5 separate regions of the Homo sapiens genome follow, and regions 2, 3, 4 and 5 are each linked to region 1. The links are contacts of gene promoters, found by promoter capture Hi-C in blood cells and fetal thymus (Javierre and others, 2016). All regions are on one chromosome and are shown on one strand. Each heading gives the region's core, a stretch centred on a gene start or on the middle of the fragment in contact. The rest is flanking DNA. Distances are from core to core; before and after follow the strand shown. Region 1 holds the start of CSRP1 (cysteine and glycine rich protein 1). Region 2 overlaps IPO9 (importin 9). Region 3 overlaps NAV1 (neuron navigator 1). Region 4 holds the start of MIR1231 (microRNA 1231). Region 5 holds the start of TIMM17A (translocase of inner mitochondrial membrane 17A).

The links. Contacts are between HindIII fragments. The CHiCAGO score rates a contact against its expected background, and 5 or more counts as called.
Region 2: a contact is called between a fragment that was not itself captured here and the fragment with the promoter of CSRP1 in region 1, in 3 of 17 cell types (M1 macrophages, erythroblasts and megakaryocytes). The highest score is 5.9, in M1 macrophages.
Region 3: a contact is called between a fragment that was not itself captured here and the fragment with the promoter of CSRP1 in region 1, in 4 of 17 cell types (monocytes, M1 macrophages, M0 macrophages and 1 more). The highest score is 8.2, in monocytes.
Region 4: a fragment that was not itself captured here is called in contact with the fragment with the promoter of CSRP1 in region 1 in 4 of 17 cell types (monocytes, endothelial precursors, naive CD8 T cells and 1 more); the score reaches 5.9 in monocytes.
Region 5: a contact is called between the fragment with the promoter of TIMM17A here and the fragment with the promoter of CSRP1 in region 1, in 1 of 17 cell types (erythroblasts). The highest score is 5.1, in erythroblasts.

What each region holds. Positions count from the first base shown.
Region 1 is chr1:201,505,452-201,508,481 of GRCh38, forward strand. It overlaps CSRP1 (cysteine and glycine rich protein 1), which reads right to left and starts at 1,672. Exons shown (of 6, transcript NM_004078.3): 1 at 1,619-1,672. It overlaps CSRP1-AS1 (CSRP1 antisense RNA 1), which reads left to right and starts at 1,762. Exons shown (of 2, transcript NR_160747.1): 1 at 1,762-1,968. RefSeq lists a silencer at 1,374-2,003. The HindIII fragment of the contact is 16,293 bases long and covers 1-3,030 here.
Region 2 is chr1:201,865,011-201,868,281 of GRCh38, forward strand. It overlaps IPO9 (importin 9), which reads left to right. Exons shown (of 24, transcript NM_018085.5): 15 at 1,723-1,949. Among named protein-coding and RNA genes, the nearest start is that of MIR6739, 3.3 kb to the left of the region's middle. The HindIII fragment of the contact is 1,004 bases long and covers 1,451-2,454 here.
Region 3 is chr1:201,786,238-201,789,186 of GRCh38, forward strand. It overlaps NAV1 (neuron navigator 1), which reads left to right. Exons shown (of 34, transcript NM_001389617.1): 13 at 192-340; 14 at 2,231-2,401. The region is part of intron 2 of IPO9-AS1 (IPO9 antisense RNA 1); the gene reads right to left. Among named protein-coding and RNA genes, the nearest start is that of MIR1231, 21 kb to the right of the region's middle. RefSeq lists an enhancer at 1,827-2,327. The HindIII fragment of the contact is 4,587 bases long and covers 1-2,949 here.
Region 4 is chr1:201,806,285-201,809,374 of GRCh38, forward strand. NAV1 (neuron navigator 1) reads left to right here. Exons shown (of 34, transcript NM_001389617.1): 22 at 1,669-1,865; 23 at 2,134-2,326; 24 at 2,419-2,587; 25 at 2,880-2,977. All of the region lies in intron 2 of IPO9-AS1 (IPO9 antisense RNA 1), which reads right to left. MIR1231 (microRNA 1231) reads left to right here and starts at 2,327; the gene lies at 2,327-2,418. The HindIII fragment of the contact is 1,207 bases long and covers 1,040-2,246 here.
Region 5 is chr1:201,954,049-201,957,110 of GRCh38, forward strand. It overlaps TIMM17A (translocase of inner mitochondrial membrane 17A), which reads left to right and starts at 1,455. Exons shown (of 6, transcript NM_006335.3): 1 at 1,455-1,504. The coding sequence starts at 1,479. RefSeq lists an enhancer at 1,444-1,733. The HindIII fragment of the contact is 2,275 bases long and covers 1-2,024 here.

The sequences.
Region 1 (3,030 bases), core at 422-2,921:
TTTATTAGCAGGCCAATTGCAGAGTTGATGGGCCTTCTCTTTAGTTTCTCTCCTGCTTCTTCTTCCCCATACCCTCCATCCTGGGCATCTCAGGCCTTGCAGACAGTTCTCTCCTCCCTCTCCTCTAACCCACACTACACCCTCTGCAGGATAAACTTCCTTCCTCGTCTGACTGCCTCCGCCCCGGATATCCTCTCCAAGGCAAAGAGTCATTCACTGGAAGACCGTGAGCAGGAGGAGGCTGGATTTAGGAAACAATGGGTAAAAGCTGCCCTCCAGCAGCTGAGGGCTGAGGACAGTCTCTCTCAAAAGAGGTAGCCAGAAACCAGCTGGAGAGTCAGGAGGCAGCAGTTGAGTGAGAGCAGTTGAGGGGAGGCTCAGTACCCATCCCCAAATCCCACCTGGGGAAAATCCCCAACATGCAGTCTGAGAGGACAGAGGGAGACAACCAGCACCTCCAGCCTCCTTAGCTTCTGGGAGGAAGGCAAGGGATGAGGGGAGGACAAGAAAGACAGTAACTGAGAGATCACTCCTGTGTTGGAGGTTCTGTGTAATATGCTCCCCAAGTAGCATCCCTGAAAGAAACTGAGACATTGAGAAGTTAAATAGTTTGTCCAAGGAAACCTGCGCGTTAAGTGGCAAATCCAAGAGTCAAAACTCTGCCTTCCAAACAATCCCACCAAGACTCCAAGCCACCTCTTCATGATATACTGATATACTTTCTACCAGGGCCCAGTGGATTTCCTCGGTGCCACTGTGATAGTATCCCAGCGTGGGGAGAGCCTGCCCATTCATTCACTCTCAGGGAGCAGCTGGTGGGTGGCTGGAGCCCAGGGCTCTAGGCAGAGCCTGAGCCCACTATTGCTCCAGCCGATTCCTGGGTCCTGGTTAGTTCACAACAGCACCAGAACCAGAAGCATGCAAAATATTCTCTAGTCTGTACCAGTAGATACAATACCTGCCTCAGAGGGCTGATTGTTAGCTAACACATTGTGATTTGCTTTAAATGTGCTCAATACCAGCCCCTTTATCACTTCCCAGCTTTCAAGGACTGAGGCCACAAAACACTGACTGCAGGCTCTTTCAGGTTTCAGTAACCATCACCACCTAGCACCAAGATTTGGAGTGGAGAGGTTTCCATGCAGTTATTTCACAAGAGGGAAAACTCACACCTGCGCTCAGGGACACAGATGTCCAAGGTCAGGCCCAGATGTTTGCCCCACCCCGCCCGCGGGCATTTTCTCCCCAGCAGGAGGGTGAGGGAGGGGGTGGCACGGATGCCCTCATCTCTCTGCCATACAATGAGCGTCAGTGGCGCGCAGAATCGCCGATTGTTCTGCCCGACTTGCAGGCGGTTGCGGGGAGCCGGGTCGCCCTGGGTCACGCACACGCGGAAGTCAACTGTGTCCAGGAAGCCCAGGAAGGCCCGGGATGGGGACGGACCTAGTGCCTCCAGAAAAGAGCAGCACTGCCCGGGCTAACTGCGGTCACTTCTCACAGTTCCCCGCCTGCGACAGCCCCGGGGCTGCGGCGGGGCTGGCAAGACCGGGAGGCGCTGAGTGCGTGCCCAGGCGCCCCTCCGCGGCGGGCAGAGCCGCGCGACTCAGGGCGCACTCACCTGGCAGCTGGCTCGGCGGCGCAGGGGCGGCAGGCGCTCTCGGAAGTGGCGGCTGGGTGCGCCCGGCCTGCGCGCCGTTTTGTTCCGCTCCGCGGAAGGCGTGTCCCGGGCCACGCCAACCAGTGGGCTTTGCACACTGCACCACTCCAGGGCTGATGTCATGGCGCGAAGCCCGGCGGTGCTGCCCTCCTAGGCCCCGGGAAGGCCGGCCGGCAGGGGCGGGGGCAGGAGTCGCCGACTCTGGGGGTGCTCCGAGCTCGTGCTGCGGTCCCACTGTGCGCCCTGTCGCCGCCACCGCGGAAAACGTCTTGCACGTGCGAGGGGCATTTCAGGAGTTTCCTGTCTGTCAGGTGAGAAGGCGGAGATATGACCTTAGAGGTCAGACCCATGATAAACTTGAGCCCCTAACGAAAGGGTGTCTCGAATTTACTTGTCCTGGTGGCAGAGGGTGAGGGACACATTTTGGGCGCCAGGGTAAGACAGACCCTTCCAGGGCAGGTCTGATTCTGCCCATCCACTCACTAGCTGGGCCCTGGGCCTAGACAGCCCTTCTGGGTTCAGGGTCATCTGTGAACGGCGTGTAATCTACAGGGATGTGAGGGGCTAAAAGGAGATCCGGTAGGACCCGCAGACCTTCAGCAGCACCCGGCATGTAATAGACACTCAATAAATGTAACTCCCCCCTCCAACAGCTCTTGCCCCTCAGTTTTTCCCAGTCTTCCCTGCTACCCTAAGGACAACACCTGGAAAAAGGTGTTCTCCCGCAAAAGCAGCAGTTCTGAAAAGTGGGTGCCTCCATAGAGGCTTTTCTCTGGGGCTCCAACCTTCAGTAGGACAGACACAGGCTCAGGCCACTCAAGCTGCCCCTGGGGCAGTTTCCAGGGGACATTCTGTCCACACCTCCTCACCCAGTCCCCAGCCCTTCCTGAGTGCCCCGTGCAGGCATTTCAGGGAGCAGAGAAGCTCACAGCCTCCAGCTGGTCACCCTACACCCCAGGTGGCCCATAGATGCAGCTGCTATGTCTTCCACCCTGGGCAGGTGTCAAGGGTTCAGGCCCCAACCGGCTTCACTTAAAGCCCTGGTTTGCTGAATCAACTTTTTGCCAGGAATAAAGTTAAGCATCTTATGATCTAGAAAATGAAGTATTTGGCCAGGCACTGTGGCTCACGCCTGTAATCCCAACACTTTGGGAGGCCGAGGCAGGCAGATTGCTTAAACCCAGGAGTTCGAGACCTGGTGAAACCCTGTTTCTACAAAAAAATTAAAAAAATTAGCCAGGCGTGGTGGTGTGTGCCTGTAATCCAAGCTACTCGAGAGGCTGAGGTGGAAGGATCACTTGAACTCAGGAGGCAGAGGTTGCAGTGAGCCAAGATTGCACCACTGCACTCCAGCCTGGGCGACAGAGCAAGAG
Region 2 (3,271 bases), core at 703-3,202, 360 kb after region 1:
TTTATATTCATTGTCAAACACTGGATTCCTTGAAGCCTATCTGTGGATCCCGATTAAGAACTGTCCTATGAATGGATCATTAGCTATCTTTCTTTCAGTCAAGAGTTTCCCTTTGGTCATTTCCTATTTAGTTTACCAGCCAATTGCAGACTGGCTTATGTCCGTGTCACACTATTGGAACTATTTTTCTTTTTTTTTTTTTTTTTTCTTTTCTGAGACGGAGTCTTGCTGTCTGTCGCCCAGGCTGGAGTGCAGTGGCGCGATCTCGGCTCACCACAACCTCTGCCTCCTGGGTTCAAGCAATTCTCCTGCTTCAGCCTCCCCAGCAGCTGGGATTACAGGCATGTGCCACCACACCCAGCTAATTTTGTATTTTTAGTAGAGACAGGGTTTTTCCATGTTGGTCAGGCTGGTTTCAAACTCCTGACCTCGGGTGATCCGCTCGCCCCCACCTCCCAAAGTGCTGGGATTACAGACATGAGCCACCGCGCCCGGCCTGCAGCTGTCTTTTCTAATGTCACTAGTAACCTTTTAATGATCAGCATTCCACCGTTGCTTTTCTTTTTTTCTTTAGCCCCAGTTTTAATTTATTCCTTCATGTCATAGTTTATGTATCATTGCAAACTCCCTTAAATAATCTCTGAAACAAGATACTGATTGACAAATAATTATACTTGTTTCACATTTTTCAACTCAAATTTATGTCAGACTGTATTCGCCTCATTTCAATCAACAAATATTTACTGAATGTTGCTTATCATGTCCAATATGATACAGTTGTTAAAAATACATTGTCTAGGACCAGACACGGTGGCTCACACCTGTGATCCCAGCACTTTGTGGGGCCAAGGCAAGTGGATCACCTGAGGTCAGGAGTTCGCTCCATTTCCCACTTCTATTCTAAGGGTTTATAGTTACTTTGCCCCTCTAATGAACTTGAAACTGTACCGTATGGTAGATTACAGAGTTTGCATCATCTATCTACATCATGCTGGATCTTAAATGCCATGCTGAAAGAGGTTGGACTTTATTTTGGAAGTCGGTGTTTCTTTAACTTGTGTTACTCCTAACACCTAATCTTCTCTTTACCCTGAAGTCTCCAGGGGAAACTGATGTCCCACGAAAATATTATATATATATCCTGTGGCTTCCTATACTGCCTGACATAATATGACTTTCTTCTGAAGTACCTCTGTCTCAAGTTCGAAGAGAACAACTGGGCCACCTGCCTTGGCCCCCCAAAGTGCTGGGATCACAGGTGTGAGCCACCGTGCCTGGTCCTAGACAATGTATTTTTAACAATTGTATCATATTGGACATGATAAGCAACATTCAGTAAATATTTGTTGATTGAAAAGAGGCTAATACAGTAAAACTATAGAGGGAACTTTAAATCCTACAGCTAATAGGCTGATTTTGAAAGTGAAACATAAAATGTTTATATAAATTAAGCTTGTTTCAGGATGCAAAAAAAAAAAACCTCAAGAAAAAAAGCAGAAGTTTTTAAAGAAAATAGCAAAAGTCAAAGAAATAAATTACAGAACATAGAAATGGTGGTGTTGATGTTTATATAATACATCCAGAAAGAAGTAGAAACTTAAACCTAACTTTAGAATTAGCTTTATAAAGCTACACATACAAATGCTATAATATGTGAGATTGATTGGGAAAACCAGGAATTGAATTTTTTTTAATAATTCTTGCTTATCTATCTCTCTCTAGTTATTGTGACCAACTGAAAGTCTCAGAGAGTACCCACGTGCTCCAGCCCTTCCTCCCCAGCATCCTTGATGGCTTAATTCACCTAGCAGCCCAGTTCAGCTCAGAGGTCCTCAACCTGGTGATGGAGACCCTGTGCATCGTTTGTACAGTAGACCCCGAATTCACAGCAAGCATGGAAAGCAAAATCTGCCCCTTCACCATCGCCATTTTCCTAAAGTACAGTAATGGTATGCTGCCAGGGAGGATGTATTATGAGGGGCACCAAAGAAAAGGTGGTGGCTGGTGAATTTAAATGAAAGATTCCCTAGGTCTGGTCTTAGCTATGAAGCTATGGTTTTAACATCGTAAGCAAAGAATCTGGCTTTCAATTAGCAAAAAATAGAATTGTGCTGTAAATGTAGCAGCATTAAAAAATAGAGTACCTATTTCTGTAACACTTACTCTCTAGTAAGGACTTAGGGATAAAGATAATAAATAAAGGGCTAATAAGCAAGAGACATAATTCAGAACTTTGATGATAGAATAGGAAATTGGGCAAATGAAAAGCCTCCTAAAAGAAAAGGGCTAGGACTATAATTTAGAAAAGGAGATACTAAAGAAAGATATATGGAAAAGTTTATAAACAAAGGTATTCACTAGATATTTTTTACAGTAGTAAAAATTTGGAAATTATAAAAAGACATTAGTTAATTATATCCATAAAATGAAATACTGTGCAGCCATTAAAAATCAAGCTTAAAAGGAATATCTGAAACCATGGGAAAGAGCTTACATTATAATAAATGAAAAGATACTTTTCCCAAAAAATCCATAGAATATGATCCCAAGTTTTGATTTTTCTTTTAGAAAAGCATGTATGTATAGATAGGTATGTTTTAAAAAAAAATACATCAAAATGTTGAGTGTTTAGGTAGTGGAATTACAGGTGTTTTCATTATTACTTTTCTGCATTTTAAGTTTTTTTTTTCCTGTAGTGAATGTATTTATTAATACCTTATTACTAGTAAAATATTAAGGATTCTTTTTTTAAAGAGAGAGCTCCAATATTGAAGCTCAGAAAGATGTACAGGATAAGGATTATTTATATAATGTGATATACTGAACATGTTATTTGATAGCTTTTTCACTGAAAAATGTGTACTGAGGAGCTTTCCACATTGTGTTCTTGGATATATCTCATTCTTTTCAGCCATTACTAATGTTCCATAAAATGGGTATATCATAATTTACCCATTCTGTTAATGGACATCTAGGGTATTCCCAATTTTTTTCTATTACAAACAATGCTGCAGTGATCTTTTAAGGTATACTTTAATGCACATTGCCTATATTTTTCCATACTAAATAGAGGAGGATGTTTTGTTCTATAGATAAAGAAGATTGAGCTAAAGTTCCCTTTCTTCATAAGGCTCTGCTTTTTAGGAGTTTTGCCTTTTGCCCCAGAAGTAGCTTTGAGAGTTCTTCATGTCTACCGTGGCTACCCCATAGGAGATATGTATGATTTCTCTCATGCATCAAAGCCAGTGTTTTGGCAATTTTTGCAGCTTTC
Region 3 (2,949 bases), core at 320-2,819, 280 kb after region 1:
GGATGGTCTGGGAGAGGAGGCTGAGTCGCCACCTCTTACTCCCTCCTTGGGCAGCCCTGACCACTCCCTCTTTTCCATGTCCTGCTTTCAGAATCTCCTGGCTCCAGCCTAGTTCAGACACCCTCCGCACCAACTAAACCTCTGACCGCACTTGCTAGTCCCAGACTGAGTTCTTCTGCTGCTTCCTACAGGTACCAGCTTCAGTCCCAGGAGGAGACCAAGGAGAGGCGACATTCCCATACCATTGGTGGGCTGCCTGAATCCGATGACCAGTCAGAGCTGCCTTCTCCCCCTGCACTTCCCATGTCTCTGAGTGCAAAGGGCCAACTTACCAACATAGGTTAGTGTTTTCAGTCACTCACTGTGGCATGGGGTGAAGCAGGGGTCACCCTGCAGGGTGAGGCAAGGCAGGTGGGCTTTGGGTTTCATCTCATGTTTGACTCATGCTGTATTGGGTTGTTTCATGGTGCCTCAGTTTATCCACCCAAAGTAAGATTGAAGGTAGAGTACTTTGAGATCCTAAACTGAAAAGTTGCCCCTAGGCACAAGTTGTAGGGTCCTTTTAGCATCAGAGAGCCTGAATGGTGGCATGGAAAAGCTGTAACCCAAAGCCCAGAGATCAGACCAGTGCAAGAGCAGGCACATTGAACTGCCGGAAAGGAGCCACCACACCCAGTACTACTAGGGCCAGCTAATGAGAGGGCAATACTGAAATGTCAGGCCGACGGGGAGGAAGGAGGGAAAGGTTGTTGATTGCCAAGGACGAGATCTGCCTCCAAACTCAGCCAAGTCCAGATTCCTCAACTGCTCTGGCTGAGCCCAGGCCATCCTAACGCTGAAGGCAGGGCTGACTCAGATGTGTCCTGGCCACCCCCTTCCTAAAGCCTAGGGAGAAAGGAGAGCTAGGAAATAAGGAAGTGACTTAGAGACAGGGAGGAGAGGAAGCATCAGGTGGAGGGTCTGGCCTAGCACAGAAGCACACCAGCTCCGGTTCTGTGAAGCAGTACGCCATGATTGGCCTACTAGGAATCCATTCAGGAATAGTGCCTGGGATAGGCCTGTTATCTGCTTGCTGCATCTCTTTAAATCCATCTCTTCTTTCAGCTGAGTAAAAGAAATCAGTTAATAAAAGACAAGGACCTGTAACACACCCATGCAGTGACTGTGGGGAATTTGAGGAAAGACTAGGAATTGGGATCACTTGGCCTAGGGAAAAGAACCATTGTTCAGACAGGATCATCTGCCCTCTGAAGGGCTACTAAATGGAGGATGGGGCCAGCTTGTTCTCTATCTCCATTGAAGACCAAATAAGAAGAATTGCATTTATGCTGCAGAATGAGGGGCTGGGCTAAGCAATAATTACCTCAGGAATTTGAAAAGGTCAACAGAGAGGTGTGCCATCTTCTTCTGCACAGGTCTTTATGGACAGATTAGACATCCACCTGCCTGTATGGAGGCAGAAGAATAGACAAGGGAGCTCCTTGTGGGTATGAAACCCTGAAAGGCTGTAATCCCAGCAATGGGCAAAGGGGTAAGGCATCTGCAGGTTAACGGGATTCAGCTGAACCCAGCTTCAAAGCACATTCCACAAGCCTTACCTGACACTTTCACCTGCTCTGTCCATCTGACCTTCAAGCCGGGGCAATGCTAGGCAAAGAGGGCCATGTTTCTTGATGCTTTAGCGCCAACCCAGTCACTCAGAGTGACACTACTTTGTGGGGAGATTCTCACGCCCTTCCACAATGCCAGGGCAACGGGATCCCGTAGCCCAGCCCCCTTCTCTAGCTGGTGCTTTTTCATCATTCAGATCTGGGTCTTGGTTTGAATTTTCAGTCCTCCTGAGCTGGCAGTTGTGTTTTAGAGAACCACAGCATCTCATTTTCATCAGCACATCCGAGTGATGTGAAGGTCTCAGAAAAGCTGCCAGGCCCCCAGCCTAACCTTCAAAAGCAACAACTCTGAGGCAGGCAGGGTTGAGGGAAGGTCTTTATTCCAGACAGCAGGGTCCTTCTCCATTAGGGCTTGATCTCCCCAGGAGGGACCCCGCTCCTAACCACCAGCTGCTTGCACACTCCCACCACCGCACCTGCCCCTTCCTCTCCTGCCCTCTCCCCATTTGCCTCTCATGCTCCCGGTGCTCCATCCCCCAAGGGCCCGGAGAGCTGATGACCCTGCCTCTTTTCCTGCCCTCCTGCTCCCTCTCCTGTCCCCCTTCCCTCTGTCCTTCCAGTGAGTCCCACTGCGGCCACCACGCCAAGAATCACCCGCTCCAACAGCATCCCCACCCACGAGGCGGCCTTCGAGCTGTACAGCGGCTCCCAAATGGGGAGCACCCTGTCCCTGGCCGAGAGACCCAAGGGAATGATTCGGTCAGGATCCTTCCGAGACCCCACGGACGATGGTGAGACTTCATGCTAGCGCGGTTCACGCTCATTCCAGCTCTGCTGGGTCCCCTCACCCACCACCTCCACTCCCACCACTCCTACCACCACACACATATATGATTCACAGAACATCAAGTTGGGCCATTTCAGTTTTTTCTCCCCATCCCTTTGAAGGGTCTGGGGACCCAGAAACCTTGGGTGGCACATCTAGCACTGGGGCATTGGGATGGAGCATCCATCACTGGGGCTGGGGGAGGGAAATTGAGCATGGAAGGGTTAAATGGCATCCCTCAGGATGCTCTGAAAACCACAGCTTCTCTCCTCCTCATTCTAGCCATAGTCTTTCCTCCCCACAGTCTCTCAAATATATGAAAAGAAAACAGGACATAATAGTAGCTCTTAATAAATCCTTACAAATAATTAGGCATCTCATTTCTCTTTCAAAAATGTTCCAAAGATGAGCATCAGGGAGGGCCATCTGATTGTTGGTGGTGATCTGGGTGTTAGTACTGATCAGAGCTAGAAGACCAGGCTTATGGCAGGTTAGCTCTCCCATTATTATTTT
Region 4 (3,090 bases), core at 393-2,892, 300 kb after region 1:
TAAGTACTGCATTTTCTACATCTGCACAGAAAAAGTTGTGAGATATCCCCCAGCAAATAATCTTGTTTCATTTTGCTTAATCCATTGTTCCCTAAACTCATTTAACCATGGAACCACTAGCCACATAACACCAAACATCTCGGAACAGTTCTGGCTTTGGGAATACTGAACTACACATATTCTCACTTAGGATCTTATTGATCTTAGGGGCATATGCTTCAGGCAGCTTGTCATAGGATCTCTTTACACACACACACACAGCATCCCATGAGGCAGTGCTATGGAGAAAACTTCACTGGATTGAAAATTAGGAAGCCTGAGTTCTAGTCCTAAGTCTTACGTCAATTATGCAATTTCAAGCAAGTCAACTCTCTGGCCTTTTCAGGCTTGGTTCTTCATCTCTACAGAGAAATGAGCTTTATGGTACTTTTGAGCCCTGACTGCTCAGTGATAAGAAGTCACCTGGAGCCAGCCAGCTGCACACATACTCACTCATTCATGTCTCCACCACAGCCAAGTTGGTCCTCCTTTACATCTTGCCTGGTGGAAACCCCAAGATGCACCACCCACCAGCTCCATCCATCACCTGACGGCCTTCCTATGTTCCAGGAGAGACGCTTAGAAAGCGTACCCTCAAATTTTTCCTTCTTTTTTCTCACCGTCCCAAAGATCTGGTTTGCCTTTGTCCCCTATAACCTTTGACCCCTCCTTTACTCTCTGCCTCTTGCTGCCATTTCATATCTGTGTCCCTGTGTGTGTGTGTGTATGTGTGTGTGTGGTGTGTGGTGTGTGCATGCTGTATGGATGCATGTGGATGGGTATGGGACAGGACCCTGGTTTGCATCTCTAGCTCACATCCCTAACACCCAAGCTCATCAACACCAAGATCAAACAAGCTATGGTCAGATTATAATGCCCCAAGTACTCTAAAGAAATGCTGGGAAATAGCCCTTCTTCTAGGACATTGGAAATCATAGAAAATGCTGTCTGGCTGTTTTAACCATTCTGTGATGTCCTGGGCACAAGAAATACTAAAAGAAGCTTGAGCCCACTGCCTTCTCGTGTTCTCCACAGAATCATATTGTCAGTTTCTGGTTGACAGATGACTAGATGAACAGATTCTGGGCTGATGAGCCCTAGTCAGAGGCATCATGAGGTGGCCTCTGAGGCCCACAGTGAGCCAGGTTCTAGACTGAGCGGTTATTGTTCTGCTGCAGAAGGTGGGATTGGATCACTGAGCTGTATACCATGTGACCTCTGGGACCTTCTCTCTGTCCCCATCAGGGGCACAATTCCCCCTATGAGCAAGAGAACACCCAGGAAGTTCCCATAGCCTACAACATCAGCAAGCTAGAAGATTCTGTTCTTTCTCTTGGTCCTAATTTCCTTTCTTTCTTTCTTTCTTTTGAGATGGAGTCTCACTCTGTTGCCAGGCTGGAGTGCAGTGGCTCGATCTCAGCTCACTGCAACCTCTGCCTCCACGGTCCTAATTTCTAGGCAACTCTTCTGTCCGTATTCTATGAATCAAGTGAAGTGTTATAGAGGGTGGCTTAATTAAAGTAAATCCCCCGCCTCCAGCTCTCTCTGTCTCAGAAGTCTCAATCCAGTCCTCCCCCATCCCAGTAGTGGAGTCCTAATGTCCCTCTACCTGGATCTGCTTTTTTCTAGCTTCGAAGTTCCTTCAACAAAGCGTTCAGTATAAAAAAGGGGCCCAAGTCAGCTTCCTCATACTCGGATATAGAGGAGATTGCTACACCCGACTCTTCAGCCCCCTCATCCCCCAAACTACAGCATGGTTCTACAGAGACTGCTTCACCCTCCATCAAGTCCTCCACCTCGTCCTCCGTGGGCACTGATGTCACCGAGTAAGTGCTCTTTGGCTCCCTGCCACCCAGCCTGTTACCAGTGTAAGCTGTGGGCTAGAGTTGACAGGAGGCCATTAGACCTTAGACAAGCAGTACTTATTACTGACCTCTCCCTGGGCATATGAGACCAACAGATGGACCTTTCTTCTCATGCTGATTGAATATCAATGGGCAGGAGAAGCCAAGACCACCAACCATGCCTCTCAATATTCTCTAGTAACTCTAGTGCTTCTTCATGTAGCCTGGCTTGACTCTTGCTATCTTACAGGGGCCCTGCTCACCCAGCCCCCCACACTAGGCTGTTCCATGCAAATGAGGAGGAGGAGCCAGAGAAGAAGGAGGTATCGGAGCTGCGCTCTGAGCTATGGGAGAAGGAAATGAAGCTTACAGACATCCGCTTGGAGGCCCTCAACTCTGCCCACCAACTGGATCAGCTTCGGGAGACCATGCACAACATGCAGGTCAGTGTCTGGGCGGACAGCTGCAGGAAAGGGAAGACCAAGGCTTGCTGTCTGTCCAGTCTGCCACCCTACCCTGTCTGTTCTTGCCACAGTTGGAGGTGGACCTGCTGAAAGCAGAGAATGACCGACTGAAGGTAGCCCCAGGCCCCTCATCAGGCTCCACTCCAGGGCAGGTCCCTGGATCATCTGCATTATCTTCCCCACGCCGCTCCCTAGGCCTGGCACTCACCCATTCCTTCGGCCCCAGTCTTGCAGACACAGGTACCTGTGTGGGAGAAGAATCTATAAGGGTGAAGGGAAGAAAAGGGCTTATTTCACTGTTACACCATTCCACTTGCTTTGGTCAGGGCGGTAACAATGCCGAAGCCAAGCAGATGCCAGTGTCCTAAGACACTGAGTTGTAATGGTCCTTCAACCTTAACTACTTTTGAGTTTGGGACCTCCATTCCTTCTCTGTGGCAAACAGAGTTATTTTGGAAAGGATAATGATGGGAAAGTTTAGGAAAGGCTGCGGGTACTCCTAAAACCAGTTGGTTCTTTTCAATCCCCACAGACCTGTCACCCATGGATGGCATCAGTACTTGTGGTCCAAAGGAGGAAGTGACCCTCCGGGTGGTGGTGAGGATGCCCCCGCAGCACATCATCAAAGGGGTAAGGAACTTCAGGGAGAGCCACAGTGGGAATGAACAAATACTGTTACATTTATCCAAGAAAATCTGGACCCTGGGTACCTCCAAAACCAAAGAACTCAACTCCTAAGGCCT
Region 5 (3,062 bases), core at 205-2,704, 450 kb after region 1:
TCGTGATCCGCCCGCCTCGGCCTCCCAAAGTGCTGGGATTACAGGCGTGTGCCACTGCGCCCGGCCTCTTCCATTATTTATGACATTGACTTTTCCGTAAAATAAATATATACATATTTTTAAAGTTAATTACAAACGTACAGAATGGAGAGGAGCACTTTAACAGCCATCACATGATTGGGATTTTGTTGACAGTAAACTAAAAGCTCCATGGGTCCCAACCTTTTTTTTTTTTTTTTTTTGACAGTGTCTCACTCTGTCACTAGAGTGCAGTGGCATGATCACAGCTCCCTGCGGGGTAGATCTCCTGGGCTCAAGCTATCTTCCCGCCTCAGTCTCCCGAACAGTCAGGGCTACAGGCACGTGTCACCACGCCCGGCCTGGTCCCCATAAGTCCCCTCTTCTCCGAGCCAAACATCTTCACACCTTCTGGTGATCATTAGTGGAGAGGCCTGTGAGAGGCTCTGGTGTCAATGTCCCTGAAATCGAGGGCTCCAAATTGGTCATGGCTCTCCAGATGGCCCAAACAGTTCCAGTTCACAAACATTTATTGAGCATCTACTACATTCCAGGCACTGTGGTTATTATAAATCACTGAGACACTGTTTGCCCTAAAGGAGCTACGTGTATTTGGTAACAGCTTCACAGTAAGTGACGAATAAGATAGCATTAATCCACATTTGACAGCAAAAGTACCAAAAAAGAAAGAAAGAAAAAGAAGAGAGAGAAAGGAAAGAAAAGAAAAGAAGAGAAAGAAAGAGGCCGGGTGCGGCGGCTCACGCCTGTAATTCTAGCACTCTGGGAGGCCGAGGTGGGCGGATCACGAGGTCAGGAGTTCGAGTCCAGCCTGATCAACATGGCGAAACCCCGTCTCTACTAAAAAAACATAAAAATTAGCCGGACCTGGTGGCGCCCGCCTGTAGTCCCAGCTACTCAGGAGGCTAAGGCAGGAGAATCGCTTGAACTCGGGAGGCGGAGGTTGCAGTGAGCCGAGATCTCGCCGCTGCACTCCAGCCTGGGCGACAGAGCCAGACTCTGTCTCAAAAAAAAAAAGAAGAAGAAAAGAAAAAGAAAGAAAGAAAAAGGATGGAAGGAGAGAAGAAAAGGAAAGGGGGAAGGGAAGGGGGAAGGGAAGGCGGAAGGGAAGGGAAAGAAAGAAGCGTATTTAGGCAGTATCGCGTTGATTTCAGTCCACGGAACCTCTGGTGACCGGGTAGTGTGACTCCGTCATTGGTAGCCCCCCGCCCACACAGCCGGGACTCGCGGCCTTTGAGGACGTGGGCAGGGCCAGTCTCGCCACGCCGCGGCCAATGCCCCGACCACACGCTGGCCACAGGAGTCCTGGCTCCCATTGGCTGCAGCGGGAAATGGTGAACCAATGCTCATAGACCTTAACGCCCTCCTCTCGGGATCACTTCCGCCTCTGGGGTCAGGCTCCGCCCAGCTTGCCCGGCATCACTCGCGGCATTGGAGTCAAGATGGAGGAGTACGCGCGAGAGCCTTGGTGAGCTTCACCGCTGTCTTTGCATTTCTCTTGCCCCCCTGCCCACTGCCCTCCTTCTCCCTTGTCCAGGCTCCCAAGGTGCAAGCCAGACTCAACCGCAGCCTCGTCGACTTGGGCCTGGTAACTGGGCAATGCGGTCTTTCGCGGCCAGTCGGCTTCTTAGCCCTGTACTTAGTACCTCCCCGGCCGCGTGAGCCTCCCTCTCCCAACCCAGCACCCGTGTGACCTTGTGATGGATGGTAAGGAGGTCCAGACTTGAGTTTGATAGAACCTCGGAACCTCCTCCCAACGCAGGGCGTAATCGACTTTATGCGGGGCCAGTTATAATCCCCCCTGTTCGTCGAGGTGACCTTGGGCGCGTCCCTCCGTCTCGCCTTGCTCAGTTCCTGCGTTGAGGAACTGAAGAATAGGCATTTGAGGGAGTGTCATTCTTGAGGTTTTACTTGTATCATGATATGTGTCCACAGAGTGAAGCATTTTAAATGAATGGAACATAGATTTTAGCCAAGGGGTCTGGATAAGCTTCTTTATTGCGTGGGGCCTTGTTTTCCTTCTTGGAATTCTTTCTTGAGGGTAGAGGGGGACAAAAATTACCTGGGAAATAGGAAGAGGTAATAGCATGTGTTCTCTGAAAAGCCATGGACAGAAATTCATTGTTACATCCAGCGTTTATTGAGTATGAATAAACCAGACACATAGATAATTATAAAACGATGTAATTGCTGTCAGAAGTCTCAGGTTGCCAGAGTTTAAAGTTTCTAGGGTCATAGGTAAAAAATCAAATCTTGATATTTCGGTTAATCATTTGTTTTATTGTGTAAGAGCAACAACCAAGATGTCCTCAATTTGTGAAAGTGCCCAGGACCTTAAATTACTACTCTGGTATCCTAGCCTTGTTGCATGTTTTATGTTCCCCTCTCCCATAAATGGCATACAAAATATAAGTTTTAGGGTCTCCTGGCTCTTCAAACTTATCTTCTTCAAAGCAGTTATCCTCCATTCTGGATTGTGCTCAGATATGTAGGACTCAGCACACTGTAAATAGCTGTTTGATGTACTATAATGACACAGGTTAGCAGAGAGTTAAAATATTTAACTATGTTGAGTTAAAGATCTTAGAAAAATAAGGCCGGGTGTGGTGGCTCACGCCTGTAATCCCAGCACTTTGGAAGGCCGAGGCGGATCACGAGGTCAGGAGTTCAAGACCAGCCTGGCCAGTATGGTGAAACCCCGTCTCTACTAAAAATACAAATATTAGCCGGGCGTGGTGGCACGCGCCTGTAGTCCCAGCTACTTGGGAGGCTGAGGCAGGAGAATCACTTGAACCCAGGAGACGGAGGTTGCAGTGAGCCAAGATTGCGCCATTGCACTCCAGCCTGGGTGACAGAGTGAGACTCCATCTCAAAAAAAAAAAAAAAAACAACTTAGAAAAATAATGGGTTTTCATTTACTAAATCATTAGGTAGCCCCTTTGCTTTCTCTTAGTACGTATGCCCTGAAACAATATAATCAGTTACCTGGTTATCTTTGTAGTCAAAACTGCTTTGATTTTTTGACT